2 separate regions of the Homo sapiens genome follow, and region 1 is linked to region 2. The links are contacts of gene promoters, found by promoter capture Hi-C in blood cells and fetal thymus (Javierre and others, 2016). All regions are on one chromosome and are shown on one strand. The core of a region is centred on a gene start or on the middle of the fragment in contact, and the rest is flanking DNA. Distances in the headings are between cores, read along the strand shown. Region 1 overlaps PES1 (pescadillo ribosomal biogenesis factor 1). Region 2 holds the start of MORC2 (MORC family CW-type zinc finger 2).

Region 1 (3,938 bases), core at 1,198-3,697, 380 kb after region 2:
CAGATGTAGATATGTAACAAAATCGTTACAGTTTTTAAAAGCTGGGTTTCAGAGCCAGAATCAACAAAGATGAGTCTTTGTTGTGGGAAGGATTGTCTTGTGTGTAGTAGGATATTTGGCAACATCCCTGATCCTTTACCTACTGGATACCAGTAGCACCCAGCAACCAAAAATGTCTCCAAACATTGCTGAACTCTCCTCCCCCCAGCACATACCCAGGGAGTACCCCATTGAGAACTATTTATTCCCTTAACATTTATAAGGATAAGCATGGTGACAGAGATAAGTGTGGCATAAGGTAATGGAAAACGCTATAAATGAAAACTCAACTTCTTAAGGCAGTCTGAAACTCATCTTTATACCTCCAAGACTTAGCATGGGCCTAATACCTAATAGACAATTAATGTCTAAAGGAAAGAATGAATGAAGGGTATGTTTCATGACTATGATGTTATTAGTAAACGTACCTGTGGGAGACTAACAGGTTTGTCTCTTTAGAGCTGAACCTAGCCAAAGAGGCCCCTGCTGTCTTAGTCCAGAGGAAGATCTTGTTTGGAAACGACATGCTTGTTAGCTTGCAGGGTATTTGTTACAGTGCACTGATTGTCTCTATCGAGGGATACAGAAGTGTGAGGGATACAGAAATGTGGGTGTGAGGCAGCATCTTAGCACCACAGGCATCCAGATGGTTATACAAGACAATAGGCTTCTTAGGGGCAGGTAGAGACCAGGCTTTTTGTCTTTATTGCCTTCATAGCATCTAGCTTAGTGCTTTGACCATAATAGAGGACCTGTTATTGTCTGTTGAATGAATGAATGAGGAAGGGGAGAAGCTGTGTGGCTTAGAGCATGCTTTTTCAGCCAGGGTAATACCACCCTCAAGGGAACAAAATTGGTTGAGGGGCAGTATCTTAGCTATTACAATGGTTGTGGCTCCCCAAGGACTACATTACATAAACAGACCTACAGTATATCTCTGGTATTAACATTTTATGGGGCATAGGGAAGAAAGGGTGATGGGTGAGGGAGGAAGGGGGTGTCTAATAAGTCTCCTGGTAGTGGTGAAGAGGTTATAATGAGGAAGAAAAGAAGGGGAAAAGATTAGGAACACTGGCTTAGCTATTAGGCATTCAGGTACTGGACTCAGACCTGAGTTTGAATCCCAGCCCCAACTCTTAAAAAGCTGTGTGCTTTTTAAGAGTTGCATGGGTTATTTTACGAGCCCGTTTTCTCCTATGTGAAATGGACGTTCGGACAGCACCTACATCACAGGGTTATGGGAATTAAATGAAATGTGTGAAAATCACTAATTGTAATGGCCAACATTTAGAGCTAGTGCTAAGCACTTGGCACAGCACCCTATCCGTAGCAGCCTCGCAGCCCTCAGCATCATGCAGATGTATGTGTTCCCTATGCTGACAGCCGCAAGGATGGTACAGGAGAGCTCATCCAGGCAGGTCGGCTCCTTCCCTGCAGTGTTTCCTCTCCTAGACTCATCTCAGCCACTTATCCAGAGTGATAGTTGCCTCTGGAACTAGGCATGCCCAGAGTTTGATGTCAGTCACTACAATCATTGCTAATGGAGAATTGTTTTTTTCCTCTCCCAGTATGAACGAGGCTCGGCCACCAACTACATCACCCGGAACAAAGCCCGGAAGAAGCTCCAGCTGAGCTTGGCTGACTTTAGGTGAATATAGAGGGACCGTGGGAAGCCCGGGCAGTGAATTGCACATTGAAAACTCAGCTGCATCCCTGTCTTACCTGAGTTGCCATACCCATTCTGGGGTTCTGGTATTCCTTCTCTTTCTCACCGCCCTTGCTTTAGTGAGTTGTGTTTGCTAGGTGTGGTCCAAGGGAAAATGGAGGAGAACTGAACTGGATTGTCAGGATGGGCTAGCTGGGCTGGGATGGGCTGGGCTGGGTCCCTGCCATCCATCCCCTCCTATCTGGTAGAAGAGACCCCTGATCCTGCAACTAGGGGTTCTCATTCCTCATAGAGTCAAAATAAGACTTCACTGTGGCCTGTGGGCCCTGCCCTCTGGCGGTCCCTGGCCTTTGTGGCTCACCTGGCCCACTTTTTTTTTTTTTTTCCCCGGAGACAGAGTCTCACTCTGTTGGCCAGGCTGGAGTGCATTGGCGTGATCTCAGCTCACTGCAACCTCCACCTCCCAGGTTCAAGCGATTCTCCTGCCTCAGCCTCCCGAGTAGCTAGGATTACAGTTGCTGGCGACCGTGCCTGGCTAATGTTTGTATTTTTTTTTTAGTAGAGATGGGATTTCACCATGTTGGCCAGGCTGGTCTCCAGTTCATGACCTCAGGTGATCCTCCTGCCTCAGCCTTCCAAAGTGCTGGGATTACAGATGTGAGCCATCACGCCTAGCCACCTGGTCCACTTTTATTCCTTCAAACACACCAGCTGTTTCCAGCCTTCTGGACTTTGTCTCTTTTGTTAGGATGCTTCTCTCCTTTTTATGGCTGAAATGTTGATATCTCAGAAAGGCCTTTCTTAACTCCCCTAGAGACTCGCAAGTCTGCGTTTTTGTTTTATGATTGTGACTGTCAGACTCATGTACTAGGATGTGAGGTCTCTAAGGGCAGGGACCCCATGTTCCCCATTTACTGTTGTTTTCCAGGCCCAGCTGTGGCCAGTGCTCCCCACCTTTACCCACATAACTGACATAACAGATGGCCTCTGTCTTCCAGGCGGCTGTGCATTCTGAAGGGCATTTATCCCCATGAACCCAAACACAAGAAGAAGGTTAACAAGGGTTCTACAGCAGCCCGAACGTTTTACCTTATCAAAGACATCAGGTTTCTCCTCCACGAACCCATTGTCAACAAGTTCCGTGAATACAAGGTGAGGTCTGGGCTCTAGGGTCTGTCAGGTTCTCATCGCAGCTCTGTGACCCACTAACTAACTGTGACCTTGGGCAGATTGCCTACCCTCTCTGAGTAAGCCTATACAGAGGGCAGGGTGAGCCTCAACAGAAGTACTTGGAGGGAAGAGGTCGGTTAGTTTGGAGGACCTGGCCCCAAAACAGGACTCCGTTGCATTTTTCTGGGTGTCTCAGTGTCACACACAGACCCACAGCTTGTTTCATGCTGATATAGTCTGGTGTTGGCAATGGAGGCCAGCCTTTCTCATCCTGTCAGTGTCAGGTCACTTGGCTTCTGTTCTCAGTTGAAAAACGGAGCTGCTTTGCTGTGCCATCCTCCCATGTAAACGTGTGGAGTTGGGACATCTGTGCATTGTCAAAAAGGGTGCCTGGTCTAGCTCTGCTGGTTAACACACCAGGCTTGGTGCTCCTTGGAGTTGGCTCTTTTGCTCATCCTGGGCAGAGGGGTCAGTGACACAGGCACATAGCCGTGGCCAGCTTCAGGAGGCATGAGAGTCCTTCTGCCCTGCGTTTCCATCTTCCATGGAAGAAGTTGTCCAGGAGACCTGAGCCTCAGCATTGAGGTGTTTTCTTTCTTTCTTCCAGGTGTTCGTCCGGAAGCTCCGGAAGGCTTATGGGAAGAGCGAGTGGAACACTGTAGAGCGTTTAAAGGACAATAAGCCCAACTACAAACTCGACCACATCATCAAGGAACGGTGAGCCGGGCTTTCCTCAGGACACTGCTGTTTCTTCATTTACTGCTGGTCTCTGCCCTAGCACCAGGGATACAATAGGGAATAAGACCAAGACCCTGCTCAAAGAGCTTGCAACTTTTTCAAGGACACAGACCAAAAACCAAGCTAGCAAATTACTATAATGATTACGAGGTTTGTAGTTACAGGCTTGTCAGAGGGGTCTCTGAAGGGAGACGTTTGAGCCAGCCCGCGGAAGCACAATCCAAGCAGAGGCCATGGCAAGTGCAAAGGCCCCATGGTGGGAGAGCCCCAGGGCTCCATGAAGGCACGACGGGTACCTGGTGAGACGTGGGAAGCATGGCTAGAC
Region 2 (3,449 bases), core at 950-3,449:
ACACTTGCAAGCAATTAGAACACAAGGAGGGCCAAGGAAAAAGTTTAGCTTTGAATCACTTCCAAATCTACTGATTTTGAGGTTCCGCAGTAGTTCTAACAAAACTTTTCAGACAATGTTAACTTTCGATTAAGAAAGAAAAAAACCCCAAACATCTTCAGGAATTCCATGCCAGGTTCAGTCTCTTCCAGTGAGCCCGCTTGCTAAAAGTCCACGTGCACCATTAATTAGCTGGGCTGGCAGCACCATGTAAAAAGAAGCCTATTCACCACCAACCACACAGCCTAGACATGTAAAGTAGGATCAAGTAATGGATGACAACCATGGTCGTGGAATATGGTCAATGAGAGTCAGAAAAGTACAGGCACCAGTACAAGCAGCAGATAACAGAGTTGACGGGCCAAAGGATAAAATAGGCTTATTTAAATAGGATGCTACAGAACACATCCACTCCTAATTGTAGCTGCTTTACACTGGGTGCCATTGTACCATATGCATCAGCCACCCTTCAGGCACCCCATGGTGAAAGAAAAGGATTCAGAATAGAAGCCAAGCAGGGGACTGTTGTTAACCCCGAATATCCATTATGCATAGAAACAGCTCACATATCCCAGGGACTCAAACAGGGCTTCAAAATGGTTGTGAAGGGTCCCAAATGACATCTAGGCCTCAGTTTCCTCTCTGTAGCATGAAGAAATTGTGATTCTTAACTCTTCTGGGTCACAGCCCCCTTGGAAAACTTGCTAGCGATGGATCATCATTCCCCTAAAACGCACATTCCCACAAATTCCCATCATTCCCCCAAACCGCACATTCCCACAATTTCAGGAAGTTTGGGGATCCCCAACTCCAATCCAAGGTTCCCAGGTTCAAAACCCAAGGATTGGGGAACTGCTAAGTTTTCTTACAACTCAAAAAAAATTATAAACAATAACCATCCTTTACGTACACCCACGCTTTATAGTTTACAAAGCGATTTCAACCCCACACACATTGATAGGCAGAGGAGGAAACTGAGGCGCAGACAAATTACAGAGTGACTCGCCTAAGGTCACTCCGCCAACTGGTGGCTAGGCCCGGAAGAAAACCCAGCTCTTCCGACTCCGGAGCTCGTCTCCCCACCCCGGGGCTGCCGCCAGAGCTCCCGCCCCTCACTAAGGCGGCATAAGGAGGAAAAGGCAAAGTAGAAATCCCACAACCAACCATCCTCCGGCCCCCTCCTGCCCCCCCAACTGGGTCCTTGCAGGCCCCGAAGGGTGGCGCCAGGCCTCCAAGCCGGCCCCGGCCACCCCCGCCTCCCCGGCCGCTCCAAATCCCGCGGCCGCTGCCGCCGCCGCCTCCCCCGGAGCGGGGCGGAGCAGCTGCCCGCCGCCGCCGACCACCCGGACGACTCCTCGTCGAATCGCAAACGCATAGGCCGCCGCCCGAGTTCTGCGTACGAGAAGAAAGACGCGGCGCGAGCGCCAACGGCCACCGGGCGCGCGCCGCGGCGGCCGGGCCTGCGCCCCAAGAGCTGGATGCCAGAGCAGGAGAAAGAGCCGCCAACCGATCGCTCGATCGACCGCACGCCCGTTCCTTCGCCCTACCAGACCCGGGAGGGGGGGAGGGCGCGCCAGGGCTTCTTCGATTTAGGGGCCTGACTCCCCGGCGACGAGACAAGATGGCTCCTCCGGTCCGCACCGCAGCTACCGTCCCGGCTGCGTCGCTCGGCCCGCCCCCGGTACTGTTTCTTTAAATGGCGGAGAGGGTCAGGAAAGCAGGAAGAGAGGCGCACGCTGTCACGTGACAGGGGCGGGACCGGCCAACCAAGATCCGGTCACATGGGGACACGCAGCCCGCCAATCAGGAGGCTGTACATCAGGGCGGGGGCGGGAGGAGCTGCAGCTTTGTGATTGGCTGAATGCTCCGCGGAGGCCTCGGGGGCTTGGGGCGTCGGGGAGTGTGCGAGGTGGCCGGGGCTGTGTGCACTATCGGAGACAAAGCGGTGGCTGTGGTGTCTGTGACGGCGGCGGCAGAGCAGCTCTAAACGCCGAATTTCGTGTTGCTGAATCCTGTCACCATCTCAACTAGCGCGGCGCGCGGGCGGCGCGCGGGCGGCGGCGGAGGCAGCGGCGGCGGCGGCGGAGGCGGCAGCAGCACATGGTTCCAAGAGCGCTCTGCGGCTGTTGGGTTCCAATTCCGCGGGGAGGGACAAAGGCAGTTGTGAGATCCGGGTAGTGCCCGGTCAGGTGGTGCGCTCGCCACTGCCCTCGATCCGGTCCTTGGAAGCCGGGAGTAGCTCCTCTTCGTGGGGAGGCGGCCACGGGACCGAGGCCCGGGAAGGGCCTGGGAGGCTGAGGCTGTTGTCTGAGGGACGTGGGGGCGGGGCGCGGCCTGCCCGAGGTGCTGTGGGCGGGTCATTTGTGAGGTGTTTATGTGGGCCAAGTGTGAGGTAATCTGACCACCACCCTGAACTGGGTTTGGTCCGGCTTTGAAAAAAGAAATCGTGAGTGCCTAGGAGCTTTTTCACTTGGGAGGTGGTGAAGCTGCAACTTGCGCCATATAACACTCCGTCGACATCTTGGTCTCCGGTCTTGGGCCTGTTTAAGAATCCTGGCATCACGTGTGGCGAAGACATGGCTGATCAGTTTTCTGACAGAAGTGGGTAAATTTCCGCGTTGGTAAATTTCCTGACAGGAAATTTCGGGGAACCAAAAAAGGCTGGAAGAACATGAAGATGGAGCAGTCATAAACCACCCACTCAAGGACCATCTCCTTCAGGACCATCCACACGAGACTCAGATTGTCTGAATTGAGCTATCGCAACTTAATGCTAAAAGCTCCTTAAAGCTACAGATTTATGACATAGTTCCTTCCAAAATATTACATCATAAATCATTGAGAAGATTAAAAAAAAACACTTGAAGAAATTGTAGTTTTAAACATCTCTGCATATATTTTGGATAGCTACTAGGTTACTTTAACTGTCATTAAGGAGCACAGACTTACTGAAGCTTTACTGGACAGAATCCTGGGAAATCGATATCATTATAAGGTTATATTTCCCAGTTAGCGGGTGAAGGGCTGGAGACCTTATTGCAGTCATGGCTTTCACAAATTACAGCAGTCTGAATCGAGCTCAGCTAACCTTTGAATATCTGCACACAAATTCGTAAGTATCCTCTAGGTGCCACTGAGGTAACCAGTAACTCGTTCCTTGATATTATATGGAAATCGTTTCCCCAGAAAATTTTGCTTTTTCACTTTTTGAGATGTATCCCACTGGAGTGAAATGTGTCACTGGATATCTTGAGCTCTGTATTGAAGAACTGAGATCAGTGAAATACTTGTTGCTAATCCAGAAGAATCTGATTTTTGTTTATTGGATCAAAATTTTCTAAATGCAAACTTTAGTTATTTGAAGTCAATATGTTGAGTTGTTTCATTCAAGTGTTTATAGGAATCCAACA

The links. The method cuts DNA at HindIII sites, captures the fragments that hold promoters and counts their contacts. A CHiCAGO score of 5 or more calls a contact.
Region 1: a fragment that was not itself captured here is called in contact with the fragment with the promoter of MORC2 in region 2 in 1 of 17 cell types (fetal thymus); the score reaches 5.2 in fetal thymus.

The regions. Positions count from the first base shown.
Region 1 is chr22:30,586,940-30,590,877 of GRCh38, reverse strand. It overlaps PES1 (pescadillo ribosomal biogenesis factor 1), which reads left to right. Exons shown (of 15, transcript NM_014303.4): 2 at 1,608-1,687; 3 at 2,704-2,857; 4 at 3,483-3,592. Among named protein-coding and RNA genes, the nearest start is that of PES1, 3.0 kb to the left of the region's middle. RefSeq lists an enhancer at 3,034-3,938. The HindIII fragment of the contact is 5,514 bases long and covers 1-3,938 here.
Region 2 is chr22:30,967,524-30,970,972 of GRCh38, reverse strand. MORC2 (MORC family CW-type zinc finger 2) reads left to right here and starts at 2,199. Exons shown (of 26, transcript NM_001303256.3): 1 at 2,199-3,151. The coding sequence starts at 3,084. It overlaps TUG1 (taurine up-regulated 1), which reads right to left and starts at 1,708. Exons shown (of 3, transcript NM_001396518.1): 1 at 1-1,708. The coding sequence starts at 1,616. The coding sequence ends at 1,155. RefSeq lists a silencer at 1,188-1,437 and an enhancer at 1,468-1,797. The HindIII fragment of the contact is 3,441 bases long and covers 1-2,995 here.